5 separate regions of the Homo sapiens genome follow, and all the other regions are linked to region 1. The links are contacts of gene promoters, found by promoter capture Hi-C in human tissues and cell types (Jung and others, 2019). All regions are on one chromosome and are shown on one strand. The core of a region is centred on a gene start or on the middle of the fragment in contact, and the rest is flanking DNA. Distances in the headings are between cores, read along the strand shown. Region 1 holds the start of PAFAH1B1 (platelet activating factor acetylhydrolase 1b regulatory subunit 1). Region 2 overlaps MNT (MAX network transcriptional repressor). Region 3 has its middle 5.0 kb from the start of CCDC92B. Region 4 overlaps SGSM2 (small G protein signaling modulator 2). Region 5 overlaps LOC284009 (a long non-coding RNA gene).

What was found. The method cuts DNA at HindIII sites, captures the fragments that hold promoters and counts their contacts. A contact is called where the count stands out against the background at its distance.
Region 2: a fragment that was not itself captured here is called in contact with the fragment with the promoter of PAFAH1B1 in region 1 in 1 of the 25 tissues and cell types used here (aorta).
Region 3: a contact is called between a fragment that was not itself captured here and the fragment with the promoter of PAFAH1B1 in region 1, in 1 of the 25 tissues and cell types used here (bladder).
Region 4: a contact is called between a fragment that was not itself captured here and the fragment with the promoter of PAFAH1B1 in region 1, in 5 of the 25 tissues and cell types used here (IMR-90 fibroblasts, lymphoblastoid cells, mesendoderm cells and 2 more).
Region 5: a fragment that was not itself captured here is called in contact with the fragment with the promoter of PAFAH1B1 in region 1 in 3 of the 25 tissues and cell types used here (H1 embryonic stem cells, adrenal gland and dorsolateral prefrontal cortex).

What each region holds. Positions count from the first base shown.
Region 1 is chr17:2,592,302-2,595,066 of GRCh38, forward strand. It overlaps PAFAH1B1 (platelet activating factor acetylhydrolase 1b regulatory subunit 1), which reads left to right and starts at 1,353. Exons shown (of 11, transcript NM_000430.4): 1 at 1,353-1,705. RefSeq lists an enhancer at 559-1,287 and silencers at 1,122-1,341, 1,392-1,621, 2,032-2,091, 2,152-2,201. The HindIII fragment of the contact is 12,163 bases long and covers 1-2,765 here.
Region 2 is chr17:2,385,526-2,388,345 of GRCh38, forward strand. It overlaps MNT (MAX network transcriptional repressor), which reads right to left. Exons shown (of 6, transcript NM_020310.3): 5 at 2,332-2,524; 6 at 1-2,124. The coding sequence ends at 1,376. Among named protein-coding and RNA genes, the nearest start is that of MNT, 14 kb to the right of the region's middle. RefSeq lists enhancers at 458-1,282, 2,810-2,820. The HindIII fragment of the contact is 3,787 bases long and covers 1-2,820 here.
Region 3 is chr17:2,753,220-2,756,064 of GRCh38, forward strand. It overlaps a transcript of RAP1GAP2 not described here. Among named protein-coding and RNA genes, the nearest start is that of CCDC92B, 5.0 kb to the left of the region's middle. RefSeq lists a silencer at 1,869-2,078. The HindIII fragment of the contact is 4,795 bases long and covers 1-2,845 here.
Region 4 is chr17:2,358,991-2,361,735 of GRCh38, forward strand. SGSM2 (small G protein signaling modulator 2) reads left to right here. Exons shown (of 24, transcript NM_014853.3): 3 at 2,647-2,745. Among named protein-coding and RNA genes, the nearest start is that of SGSM2, 23 kb to the left of the region's middle. The HindIII fragment of the contact is 3,883 bases long and covers 1-2,745 here.
Region 5 is chr17:2,404,992-2,407,715 of GRCh38, forward strand. LOC284009 (a long non-coding RNA gene) reads right to left here. Exons shown (of 3, transcript NR_028335.1): 3 at 1,990-2,239. Among named protein-coding and RNA genes, the nearest start is that of MNT, 5.3 kb to the left of the region's middle. The HindIII fragment of the contact is 5,447 bases long and covers 1-2,724 here.

The DNA.
Region 1 (2,765 bases), core at 103-2,602:
TTGAATTATTCAGAACCCCAAATCTCGCTTTTTAAAAATCAAGGGTCGGCTGAGCACGGTGGCTCACGCCTGTAATCCCAGCACTTTGGGAGGCAGAGGCGGGCGGATCACGAGGTCAAGGGATCGAGACCATCCGGGCCAACATGATGAAACCCCGTCTCTACTAAAAATACCAAAAAAATTAGCCGGGCGTGGTGGTGGGCGCCTGTGGTCCCAGCTACTCGGGAGGCTGAGGCAGGAGAATGGCGTGAACCCGGGAGGCGGAGCCTGCAGTGAGTGGAGATTGCACCACTGCACTCCAGCCTGGGCGACAGAGCGAGACTCCATCTCAAAAACAAAAACAAAAACAAAAAACAAAAATTAGCTGGGCGTGGTGGCAAGTGCCTGTACTCCCAGCTACTCGGGAGGCTGATGCAGAGAATCGCTTGAACTCGGGAGGCGGAGGTTGCAGTGAGCCGAGATCGCGCCACTGCACTCCAGCCTGGGCGACACAGCGAGACTCCGTCTCAAAAAAAAAAAAAAAAAAAAAAGGAAAAGAAAAGAAAAATCATAGGTATCTGTGTGGAATAAATTAACTACAAATCCCCAAGACGACTCTTGTCATCAATATTTCAATCCATAATTTAGCAAACACACACAGACATCCCTTATAGGGATACAGTTCCAGGCCTTTCTTTGGGCATCCGTTTCGAGACCTGGAGAGACTCTGATGTCTGTGTGTGACTAAGGAGAAGAATAGCTGAATCATATCCAAAAGCGAGTCCTCCCAATTAAGAATCTATAATACAAATCAAGACAATGACAGCATTCCATCTGCCTTTTAACCTCAACAGCTCCTCCTCCCAAGCCAGCCAGCCTACTCCCCTCCCTCATTCCCCCCCAAACTGGGAAATCATCTCGGAGGCCGGAGGCAGAAAGGGGCGGTAGGTGGCCGGGCCCCGCTGCCTCTCGCGCCTCCCGGGGCCCGCCACACACGGTGCCAACGGGACGCCGCGGTCGGCCGCATGAGCGCAAAAGCAGGGCAGCGAGGTGAGCAGAGCCAGAGTTCAGAAGGGGCCGCAAGTCAGACGAGGGGCTGGGAAAAAAGAGCCTCTCCCAAGGTTAACAGAAGCGTGCGGAGCGTGAGAAGCAGCACCTCGCACGCAGACTCGCCCGCCGGCCGGGTGGCACCGCTCAGCCGCCCGCCCGCTAGAAGGCAGCGCGGCCCCGGCCCGGCCCAGCCCGGCGCATGCGCCGCAGCCCCTCCTCCGCTCCCGGCGCCCGCCCCTCCCTCTTCCTGGCGGGTCTGGGGCGGCGGCGGCGGCGGCGGCGGCGGCGCGGTGACGTCAGGGCGTTGGGGCAGCTCCTGTGACAGACGGAGCTGGAGCGGCGGGGCGGCGGCGGAGTCCGGCGGCCGGGAGAGCGAGTGAGCGAGCGGAGGAGCAGCGACACGGGAGTCTAGGGAGCGAGAAGGAGAAGGAGGGGAGCGCTCGGGCGCGAGCGAGAGAAACCGCGAGCGCCGAGCTTGGACTCGAGCCCCGGAACGGCTGAGGAGCCCGCCCGCTCCCCTCCCCTCCCCCTCCCCGGGCCCGGGCCCAGCGCGCCATCCTCCCCCCTCCTTCCCTCCCTCCCTCCTTCCTCCCTCCCCTCTCCCTCCCCCTCCCCCGCCGGTGGATGGGAGTGAAGGACGGAAGAGGCCCTGCGGAGGCGGCGGTGCAGCGCTCCGGTAAGGCGGCGCGGGTCTGCGCCCTCCCCTCTGTCTCCTCCACCGCGCCCGGGCGGCTGCAGGCCGGACCCGGCGGCCTGACGATGTGGCTGCGCCGGTCCCCTCCCTCCCATTCTCCCCTCCCCCTGCCTCCGCCGCCGCCTCCTCCTTCTTCTTCTCTCCTCGCTCTCAAAATGGCGGCCGCGACGGCCGTTGAGTGAGAGACCCGGAGGAGGGGGACTGTCCGGGGAGGGCGCTGCCCTCGCTCCTCTCCTCCCGGGCCCGGCTTTGGGGGCTGCCGGCGCCTCTGCGACCCCCGCCCCGCGGCCCTCCCCAAGAAGGGATCGCCCTCCTCCCTCGGTGACTTAGCAAGAAAAGTATTCTTGGGTTGGAAGGGCGTGGGGACCAGGTAGCTCTCTGATCTTGGGGAAAAGGATCGGCCCTGCTCTCCCCGGCCGCGGAGACGAGCACCGCAGTCCCCACCCCACCCTCAGTTATCGGCTCGGGGACCGGCTCAGCCCCGCGCCGCCGGGGCACTCATAGGGCCTTCCAGGCATTCCGTCCCCGACTGGTCCTTAAGATGGGGTTGACCAGCGGAGGGTGGCCCACCGTCTCCCTGGCCCCCGGTGCGGCGGTCCAGCCTCAGCACCCGCCGAGGAGAGGCAGCCCGGCCCACCGAGCAATCCGCAGCATCCACCCACCGAATCTGGCAGGATTTTCTTTCTGCCACCGGCTCCTCGGTCGGGAGTTGCCTTTTGATGCTGTTAACATTCAGCTTCGAGGCTCCCTGCCATTCCCCTTCGTCTAATCTCATCTCCCTGCCCCTTTGGGAAACGCAGTGCCTCTGCATATTTACCCTCTTTAGCCTCCCACATGAGAAAATGCCTTTGAGGTGGTCGACACATTTTGACTCTGCACCTCTAAACGTAGCAGTAGAGGGGAAGAGGTTTTCCGTATTTAGTAGGAGAGAGCAAGGTACCATAGCTTTATATGTTATGCTACCTTTCTTCAGTGACTTAGCAAGAAACTCCTTGGGAAGAGGGCAGGAAATTTTCTTTTGGGGTTTGGGCCCAATTTATAT
Region 2 (2,820 bases), core at 162-2,661, 210 kb before region 1:
GAGAAAGCCGCATCCTAACACAGAGCCCCTGACTCCTCCCCCTTCCACGCTCAGCCCTGTCCTTGACCCAACCAAGGACCTCTTCTCAGAGAAAGGTGCTGCTGCTCTGCAGCTCCCCGGGCAGGGCCCACTCAAAAGCGTCCCCGGGAGAAGCAGGGTGTTGAGGGGATGGGAGGACAGAGGCAAAGGGGCTGGAGCAGAAGCAGCAGCCCTAGCTCTGGCCCTCTGTTCTGTATAGGTCCCAGGGTTGGTCTGGGGACAGGCTTAGGGCTTGGCTAAGCCGCTGGGTTTTTACCTTCCTGATGTCTCAACGATGTGGCTTCTATGCTCCTGGAAACAAGACCAGATGCTGGTCCATGTCTCCCAAACTGCAGGAGGCACCCAAACCCACAGGCCGCCAGGCCCACCTGTCCCTTGGAGCAGTGCCCAGCACTCAGCAGAGGTCAGAGATCAGGGGCTGAACGCAGGACAGCGCCCCTCTTTGCTGCCTTCTGGAAGCCAAGAGCCAAGCCCAGGGCTGGGGACTGGGGACTGGGGACAGGGGCCCAGTGGCTCTCCTCCCATCCAGACCCAGGCTGCAGGGGACGGGGAAGGGGAAGGACAGCCAAGTCCCTCCTTCCCCACCTCAGCCTGCCCTCCTGAGGTCCAGAGCCCAGTGGCAGGGATTGGGGTGAGGGCACAGGAAGCTTGGCAGTGGCTGGGTTTGGTTTATTGTTGGTAGAGAATCATTTTAAGTAGTATCTACGGTAACGAATCACAGTGACTGCAACCGGGTCAGAGAGCCCCAGGCTGAGGCCCCACCTGTCCGGGTGGGACTCCAGACCAGCCACTTCCTATGATCTGTCACCTGTGCTCAGAGCAAGGCCCCTTATCACCCCAATCCGCAGCTTTCTGGGCCAAGTGGCTTCAGTTCTGCTTTCCCCATTTCCCCTCCAAAGGCCTGGGAAGAGAACATGAGGCTCCGGAGGAAAGCCGGGGGCCTGGGCCACCTCACCAGACAGCAATAGCAGCAGCAGCACACGAAGGCGGGGCAGGGCGGGGGAGAAGTCAGGGAGCGTGACGTCCACATCGCACTGATTTCCGAGGGTAGGGAGGGGAAGCAGGAGCGGCACTGGAGCTGGCACTGGGCCGGACAGGTGGCACATTCCATCAGAGTCTCGCATTTTCTCAGAGTCATCTTACCAAGTCCTAGTGCAGCAGGGTGGCCCTTCCCTCCCTTGGCTCAGAGTCTTTGCACCCCCTTCCCCTAGGAGGCCTGGGGGTGGGTGGGGGGGCTGGCCTGGGCCTGGCTGGAATGTGTGGAGCTGGTGGGTGAGAGAGTGGGGGACAGGTCCCCCTCCCTGTCCCCACTGGGGGCCTCTGAGTGGCCTCGTCCTCAAGCCAGCTTGAGTGTGCTGACTGGGAAGGAGGGCATGGTGACCATGGTCACAGGGTTGAGCACGGTCTGGCCCACCAGCTGGGGGTGGTGCACCACCTGAGCCCCCACGGCCGGCTTTGCCATGACAGTAGCCGGGGGCCCCAGGCCGGCCGTGCCGTTGACTTGCTGGTGCGAGAGGGTGTGGGCGATGTGGCTCACTGCCACGGGCTGCGGGTACAAGGGCAGCTGGGAGCCCAGGTGGGCCACATGGTTGAGGGTGGCAGGGTGCACAGTGATGTGCCCAATGGGGGGTGTGGCAGGCGCCAGTTGCACCGCAGGGCTGGGGGCCGAGGGGGCGATGTGGGCGATGTGCTTGCCGCCTGGCCCCTGCAGAACGTGGTTCACAGTCTGGATGACTGAAGCGTGAGTGGTGGCTGTGTGGGCGATGACCGTGGAGCCACCCCCAGCCGTCGCCACCAGATGGGCTGGAGCTGGCACCAGTGTCTGGGCAGGGGCAGCCGGTGGGGGAGGAGGGGCTGGCAGAGGGGTCTTCTGCTGTGGCTGCTGCTGCTGCACGGGGAGGTGGGCAGGAGGTAGGGCCACGGAGTGGGGGTGAGGGTGTGGGTGTGGAGGCAGAGGCGCAGGGGTGGTGCTGGGGGGTGGCAGGGTGGACTTCAGCAGCTCCGGCTGGGGACGATGGCTCAGCTTAGGTGGGCCCAGGCCCGCCCGGTCCTCCTCCATATCCTCGTCTATGTTGTCCTCACCCTCTGTGGGGAACATGGGGCAGGGAGCAGGTCAGAAGGGCGGGGAAGCAAGTGGCTGGAGGCGTAGATGCTCGTGGGGGCGTGGGAATGTGATGGGGCTGGGGCCAGGGCCATCTTTTCTAGCAGGCAAGAAAGAGCCTGGCCAGGGAGGCTGGAATTTGAGGTGTAACATCTGAGGGCTGGGGGGCCAGCGTGGGGGCTGGGGCTCACCAGAGGCGGTGGAGGTGGAGGCCTGGTCATCCTCGGGCTGGCCCGTCTGCCGCAGCACGCGGTCAATCTCCAGTACGTCCATCCACTGGCTCAGCTCGTGCTTGAGCTCTGCCAGCCGCTGCTGCGTGGCAATCTTCTCACGTGCCAGCCGCTCCATTTCATGCTCATATTCCTTCTCCTTCCTCTTCAGGGACTGGCACACAGAGTAAGGGACAGCAGGACACCCTGAGCAGCAGCCTTGGGGCCCAAAGCCCCCACAAACCTCTCCCTATCAGCTGGCCCACAGAGGCAAGTCCGTGGCAACCAGCGGGCCCAGCCTGACGGGGGCTGCTGGAGACCGCACCTGTTGTGGTCCATGCCCCTGCCCAGTGAGGCCCAGCGTCCCAAGGAGTGTGGGCTCTTGGGACAGGCACCACTGAAGCAAGCTCAACCAGGTGTGCAGGTCCTTCCCTGTCCTCCACAATTCATCCTCAGGGGCTTCTCCGCCTC
Region 3 (2,845 bases), core at 297-2,796, 160 kb after region 1:
TCTACCTGCCTTGGCCTCCCAAAGTGCTGAGATGACAGCGCTTTGCTGGGATTAGCCACGGTGCCACACCCTGGCTCCATTTCCAAAATTAAACTTGTAACAAAGTAAAAGAAAACTAAAGTTTAGAAAAAGTGTACCTCTTGCTTCCGAAGCCACGATTACTTTGAGTTGAGCACTTTACCAATGGGATCTCATTTAAACTTCAGATAAATCGTATTGGAAAGGTTTATTCCCATTTTCAGATGGAGAGAATGAGGTTGAATTTAACATCACACAGCTTGGAAATGGCAGAGCCAGGATTCAAACTCCAGCCCAGCCTGGCCCAGAGACAAGCTTGTAACCACAGCATCCTCACGCCTGCCAGAGAGAACATGAGTCCAGCTGTGGCAGCCACAGTGGTCATAGCTTAAAGGGAAGGTAAGGGCCAAAGTGTGCAAGGCCTGGAATGCCAGCTAGAGGAATGAGGCCTGGGTGGCAGAGAAGGCCTAGAGTCTCCTCCATCTCTTCATGACAGTCAGAAATTCTGACTTTCTCAGTTTAGTTTGGGTAACAGTTCTGTATTGGTTAGCATCCTGGCAGGGAACAGATGGCACATTTAAAATGGACAATTTGGCTGGGCCCGGTGGCTCTCACCTGTAATCCCAGCACTTTGGGAGGCCAAGGTGGGCAGATCACTTGCGGTCAGGAGTTTGAGACCAGCCTGGCCAACATGACGAAATCTCGTCTCTACTAAAAATACAAAAATTAGCCAGGTGTGGTGGTGGGTGCTTGTAATCCCAGCTACTCGGGAGGCTGAGGCAGGAGAATCGCTTGAATCCAGGAGGTGGAGGCTAATTTTTGTATTTTTTAGTAGAGATGGGGTTTTACCATATTGGCCAGGATGGTCTCGATCTCCTGACCTCGTGATCTGCCCGCCTCGGCCTCCCAAAGTGCTAGGATTACAGGCGTGAGCCACCGCGCCCGGCCGTATATATATATACCACATTTTGTTTATCCATTCATCCATCAGTGAACATTTAGGTTGCTTCCACCTGTTGGCTATTGTGAATAATGCTGCCATGAACACGGGGCACACTTTCTTTTCTTTTCTTTTTTTTTTCTTGAGACGGAGTCTCGCACTGTCGCCCAGGCTGGAGTGCAGTGGCGCGATCTCGGCTCGCTGCAAGCTCTGCCCTCTGCCTCCCAGGTTCACGCCATTCTCCTGCCTCAGCCTTCCGAGTAGCTGGGACTACAGGCGCCCGCCACCACGCACGGCTAATTTTTTGTATTTTTAGTAGAGAGGGGGTTTCACCATGTTGGCCAGGATGGTCTCCATCTCCTGACCTCGTGATCCACCTGCCTCGGCCTCCCAAAGTGCTGGGATTACAGGCATGAGCCACCACGCATGGGGCACACATTTTTTAAACCAGTTTGACATTTGACATATATATATATATATATTTTATATATATATTTAGAGACCGGGTCTTGCTATGTTGCCCAGGCTGGAGTGGCAGCGGCTATTCCCAGGTATGTTTATAGCACTCAACAGACTTGAACTCCTGGCTCAAGTGATCCTCCTGCCTCAGACTCCTAAGTAGCTGGGACTACAGGCATATACCACCACACCTGGCTGACATTAGCCTTTTAATTTTGCTTATTGTGTTTTTGTGATGTGCAGATATTAAACATTTTTATTTTAGCCAAATCCATTAATCTCTTCCTTTATGGCTTCTGCCACTGATGTCATGCTAAAAAAAAAAAACCTATCCTCACTTTAATATAATGACAATACTTATCCACGTTTTTTTCTTTTCTTTCTTTTTTTTTTTTTTTTTTTTTTTTTGAGACAGTCTTGCCCTGTTGCCCAGGCTGGAGTGCAATGGCGCGACCTCTGCTCACTGCAACCTCCGCCTCCCCGGTTCAAGCGATTCTCCTGCCTCAGCCTCCCGAGTAGCTGGGATTACAGGCAGGCGCCACCACGCCCCGCTAAGTTTTCTATTTTTAGTAGAGACGGGGTTTCACCATGTTGGCCAGGTTGGTCTCGATCGTCTTGACCTCGTGATCCGCCCACCTCCGCCTCCCAAAGCGCTGGGATTACAGGCGTGAGCCACCGCGCCCGGCCGAGTAGTTTACTTCTTTAGGCATCACTTCCTGGGTAGAACGGGTTTCCTAAGGGAGTAAGGCACAGAACGAGGCAATGGGCCGCCTGGTCTCTCCGCGCGTCAGTAGGACTCGGGGAACCAGACTCCGCCCAGTGCTCCCCAGAAACCCGGCTCCTCGGCGCGGCGGGGAGAGACCCGGACGGGGAGAGGCCGCTGTCCCGCCCGTTCTGCGGGGCCGGCGCTGACCCGGCTCCAGCCGCCTCCAGGGGCGGGGTCTGAGCGCCGCGCCCTCCCCGCGCCCTCCCCGCGCCCTCCCCGCGCCCTCCCCGCGAGCGCGCCCCGGACACCCGCCTGCGGCAGCCGAGCCTCCTCCACCGTGCGGCCCGCGGAGGGCAGGGAGCGGCCGGGCGAGGCATGGCGGGCCGCCGGGCGCCGGGGGAGAAGCGCTGGCAGCTGGTGCGCTGGTGAGTGGGCGCCGGGCGGCGCGGGGCCTAATGCGGGAGCGAACCCCGAGGCCCGGCCGGCGCGGGAAGCAGCGGGGCGCGGGCCCAAAGTTTCGTCCCGGGCTGAGGCTGCGGGGCCCGGGTGGGCGGAGGGGCGCCGGCTGCCTGGTCCCCACCACCCCCTCCGGTCCCCACCACCCCGCGTCCCCGCGCCGGGTCTCTGCGGCTCTCCAAAGAGATGGGCGACGGGGACCCTGTGCGAGCCGTCAGGCTTTGGGGGAACCCCGTCCCCCTCCCGCGGGGGCGCCCTTTCCCTGC
Region 4 (2,745 bases), core at 93-2,592, 230 kb before region 1:
CCTCAGCCTCCCAGGTAGCTGGGACTTCAGGTGCCCCCTACCACGCCCAGCTAATTTTTTGTATTTTTAGTAGAGATGGGATTTCACCGTGTTAGCCAGGATGGTCTCAATCTCCTGACCTCATGATCCGCCTGCCTCGGCCTCCCAAAGTGCTGGGATTACAGGCGTGAGCCACGGCGCCCAGACCCAGGGAGGGAGTTTTTGGAGCCCCAGAAGCCCATTCACAAAGTCCTCTCGGGGCCATAGTTCTCAAGTAGTGGTGTCACTATTATTATTTTGTCTGCACACTGCACGCGATAACATATTCATCACACGTGCACACTCTCGGTGGGGAACACCTTGTGGGCATGGCATAGGACAAGTGCAGTGTGAACAGTTACTGGCCGGGAGCCCACAGAGCTGAGTCAGTAATGCCTGGCCTAATGGCCTAACTGGTCTTAGCTTGGAAAGTCGATGCATGAGAGGGATTTCTCCTTCCCCAGACACTGCCTGGCACCTTGCCTGGGTTGCACAGAAGGAAATTAGGGACCGTGGGGTAAAGGGGGGACTGAGCGTGATGCCTGGCTTCTCTCAGTATTCCTTAGTTGCAGTAATTGCTTAGGAATGCCTCCTCTCACCCGAGAGAACCCCATGGCTGTGCTCAGAGGCTGGCCGGGAAGGTAGGCGAGGCCACCCCGATGGGAGTGCTGGGGCCGGCCACTCCCCAGTCCCCACGGCCTGGCTGCTTTTGCGGTCGCCTAGGGAAGGTGGGGAAGCGAATGACTCATTATCCCGGCAATTAATCACACCACTGAGGCATGTGATCCGTGCAGGACATGTGCCACCTGCTGCCCCTCTGTCCTGTTCAGTGCTGCTTCTCTCCCCACTCTGAATGGGAAGTGCAACCCCAGGAAATGATCACCCCCTTTCCACAGGCACGGAATTGTAGCTGCAGCAGCCCAGGACCAAGAGACTGGGACAAAAGGGTCATTCGCCTGTATATCCCAGGGCCACACAAGACCTCCAGGGACCAGGGGGAATGATCATGGAGAGGAGCATGTGGACGCTTAAGCCAAAGATTTCCCCATGTGGGCCGGGCGCGGTGCCTCACGCCTGTAATCCCAGCACTTTGAGAGGCCGAGGCGGGCGGATCACTTGAGGTCAGGAGTTCGAGACCAGCCTGGCCAACGTGGCGAAACCCCGTCTCTACTAAAATACAAAAATTAGCTGGGCATGGTGGTGTGTGCCTGTAGTCTCAGCTACTCGGGAGGCTGAGGCGGGAGAATCACCTGAACCACAGAGGTCAGCTCTCAGCTGCTGTGAGCTGAGATTCCACGATTGCACTCCAGCCTGGGCATCAGAGTGGGTCCCTGTCTCAAAAATAAAAATAAAAAAACCTTGACAGACCTCAATTTCCCTGTCTCCACCCACTTCTGGGGCAGCCTTGGATCGTCTCTCCAGTGCACCCTCTTCCTGTCCCTGTCGGGGAGAGGTCCTGCTGAAAGCCAGCTCTTAGAGGCTAGCTGTAGAACTGTATCTGAACCAACAGGGTGAGGAGTCAGGAACTGACCTAGACCCAGCACCTCCTGAGAGCCAGACCCCGCATGGGTGATTTCACATCCTCCGTCTCATGTGACATCTCACACTAGCCCTCTTCCCATTTCACAGAGGATACAACTGAGTCTCAGAGCAAGTGACCGTGCCAAGCTCAGACTTTGTTCTGTCTGACTGTCTCCAGCACAGCTCACTGTTTCCAGTCCGTGTGAAAAAACCACCTCCTTCTCCCCTCAGTGTCCCTGCCCCCAACCAGACACACCTGGACGTGGCAAAAGGGGCTCGGGCCGAGGCTTGGAGCCCTGGGTCCTCATCCTGGTGGCTCTGCCATGTTGTGACTGTGATCGAGTTTCTTCCCCTCTTTGGGCCTTTCCCTCCTCACCTGTAAAACTGTTAGTTTGGCCCAATCATGTAGAAGCTTCTCCGCCCCACACACATACACACTCCTGTCTTTAGAGTCTGTCTGGGCACAGGGCAGCTCCCTACTGTCTCCTACCAAGCCCTTCTTTTCTTCCTGCAGGGTCTGTCTGTGGAAAGTCCAGACAGAGACTAAGCCTAACCCTAAACCATGAATGAATGGAGGGAAGCCCTCCTAGCATGGAAAAGAGAAATCTCTCCCTCAGCTGCTGGGCTCATCAGTCCAGCGGCCACTGTCGGGTCCAAGCTCTGCAGTGACTTCATCAATATTTTAGCTCCTGCAGAGCCCTGTTCCTTAGCAACCGCATCCTCCGTGCCCTCCAGAAAGGCTCCCGAGTCGGGTGTTCCTCACATCCCCGTCCTGTAGGTGCTGTGCCTTGCTGTCAGGTTTGGAGCCACTCATGCCACCCTGAATGGGGAGCTTTGGTCCTCATGACCCCCAGGGGTGAGGCTGCATATAGGAGGTGTGTGCGCACCAGGCGAGGGAGAGGGACAGCTTGGCATGTCAAAGCTCTTCGCCCCGGGCAGGAGCCGAGGGACGGGGAGGGGAATTTTGGAAGGAAGCCAGGGTATCTCCCTGGCCTGCCCTTGGCTTGCCCTTACCCCTTGCCTCACCACAGGTATGGGGAAGAGGAGCTTTTCTTCCTGCTCCCCCGTCTTTCCCAGGCTCAGATGCCGTTTCCCTTTGTGGCCTAGGTGCAGTGGAGGCTTGCCTCTTGCATCAGCTGAGACGCCGTGCCGCTGGCTTCCTGCGCAGTGACAAGATGGCAGCCCTGTTCACCAAGGTGGGGAAGA
Region 5 (2,724 bases), core at 19-2,518, 190 kb before region 1:
GCGTGAGCCACCGCGCCCGGCTGTTCCTTAAGTTTCTTCATGGCTTCTGGGTGCTTAGTACCTTGGAGCAGGAGAAAAGCTGGGCTGTCCATCATTGTGAGTTTCTCACGAGAGGGTTTCCGTTTTCAGTCTTCCTCCCCGAGTCTTGTGCACCCCACCTCCCAGTTCAAATTCCATTATGTCCTCCAATTTTTTAATCTTTTATTCTTTTTTTCACCAACCACAATAAGAAGCACCAATTCCCCAATTTTTTAATATGCTGAGCCAGAGACATCCCCTTAGTGGAACTGTCTTCCTATCCCCCACCACTCACCTAACAAAGTATCAACTCCAAGAGCTATGAAAATCAGTGCCCTGACTCCTACAAAGCCTGAGTCATGAGATGGGGGAAAGGGCGTGAAGCCGAAAGTACAGATGTTCACAGGAAATCCCAACCCTTCAAGCCTGATGTCTCATCTTTTGCAAGCAGCTAAGGAGCTTTTCACATACCATCATTAAAACAAGACCCATGGGAGGAAGCTGGCTGCAGGATGAAGAGGAAAAAACAGAAGACTAGTACACTCAAGACATACCAGAGAAGATCCATTTCATAAATATTTATTGTGTGCCTGAGGTGCCAAGCACTAGGCTAGGTATGCTGTGGCCAAGGCCAGGGGACCTCTGGTAAGCCAGAGCGGGGCAAAAGCAAACAGAGCGGAACTCCACTCCACTGTGATAACTTGCAAAAGATTAGTTCTGCTGTTCGCCACCGTGCTGGATGCAGCACCAGAGACAGGACGACACGAGGACCCAGAGGGCGCCGCCATGCTCATTTCAGAAGGTGCAGCCTCCGTGTCCGTGGGTCCGCACCCATGGAGGCAACTAACCGTGGATCAAAAATATTCAGGAAAAAAAAATGGAAAATATACAAGAAAAAATAATACAAATTTAAAAACCAACACAGCACAAGAACTATTTACACAGCATTTACATGGTATGAGGTATTTGAGTAGCGCAGAGATGAGTTAAAGGATACCTGAGGATGTGCATAGGTTACATGTAAGGGATTTGAGCATCATCCATGGACAGGTATTCAGGGAGGCTCCAGGAACCAATCCCCATTGGACAGTGAGAAGCAACTGTAATTCCGTTTTTCTATGTAGAGATAAAAACAAATTCAGTGGATTTAAGGCTGGGCCAGTCAACTGAGCCTGATTCCCCCAGTCTGAATGATGAGTGGGACTCTGAATTCCTTTGACAGAGGTGGACCCATTCAATCATCAGTGAAATGGGGTCCCCACAGCCAAAAGTTTCCACAGGACTCTTTACCTCCTTTCCCCACCCCAAGTGAGTTGTCAGAGGACCTCTCCTGAACTCACAGAACAGGTCCAATCAAGTTCCACCTCCCCATTCATGTCCTTTCCAGAAGCTGGGCGCGGTGGCTCACGCCCTAAGTTCCAGCTACGTGGGAGGCTGAGACAGGAGAATCGCCTGAGCCCAGGATTTCAAGGCCAGCCTGGGCAACATAGCAAGATACTGTCTCAAAAAAAAAAAAAAAAAAATTGCAGCCTCACATGATGTCATAGCTGGAAGAGCTGGGATCATGGGGTCTGACCTCCCAAGAGAAGGTGTATCCAAGGTCACAAAGCTGCCAAGCATCAGCTAGGTTGAGAAGTGGCCTGGTCCTCCTCTTTGGCTGGCTGGGCCAGGCCTGGGGAAGTGCTATCAGTGTGGGGTGTTGAGTCCCTGAAAGCCTCCCAGAAGTGGGTGAAGATGGAGAGGGAACTCCACCCCTCCTCGTTAAAGACAGGAATAATCATTCACTTTGCTTAGTGGTCCCCAATAAACAAGCTTAGCAGATAAGCGGGAAGACAGGGAAAGGGAATCAGACTTGGGATCCAGGAGCTCGCAGGACCCTGTTCTGCCCCAGGCCACTCAGGAATGGAGAGCTGCTAGCTGGACCTGGGTAGGTCACCATTACTCACTGGGGCTTTTGTCTGGCATGAAAGGTGACGGGAGAAAGGGGCAGATTTTTATCCAGGCAGCCACCGTGGGTGTGGACACTGAGTAATAAGGAAAGAAATGCAGTTCAGAAGCAAAGAGGGAGGAGCCAGGTCCTCTGAGCTCTTCTGAGAAACCAGAGCCCAGTCGAGCTCTGCAGCTAGAGTGGCAGCTGCGGATGACAGTGGGTCAGAAGCTTGGTGGGAGGAGGCTGACCCAGCGGAAAGGCACAGGAGACGGATGACGATGTCAGGGATTCCTTTAAAGGAAAAAAGAGGTGGCTTTATGACAGCAAAACTAATTCAGGTCAAGGGAGTGGGACTGGGCAGAAGTTATGAGTAAAGCCGGGTGGAGTCTTGCCATGGGAGTCAAGAGTCCGCTGGATCACGCAGGGGTGGGGACATGGTGATAGGGAAGAAACCTCCCAGGACCGACGGGCTGCAATGTGATCAGTGCCCCACACAAAGGACTAAGGTCTATATCCCAGCAGCCCCAGTTCACACCCAAATGCAAGGCTGTAGCATCAAGTCTTGAAAGCCCAAGAGATCAGCAGCCTATGCCAGGAATGAGGCTCTCTCTGGAGGCAAGGCCGAGAGCAGTGGCCGGTCACTGGCTGCACAGCCCAGAGCAGATACCACAGAGCCAGGGCTCAGCTCCAGGTGCACTATGAGATCTCTCCCCAAGGCCCCAGGGCCCACTGGGAAAGGACACACCACTGCTGCCCAGCCTGCTCCACTCCCTGTG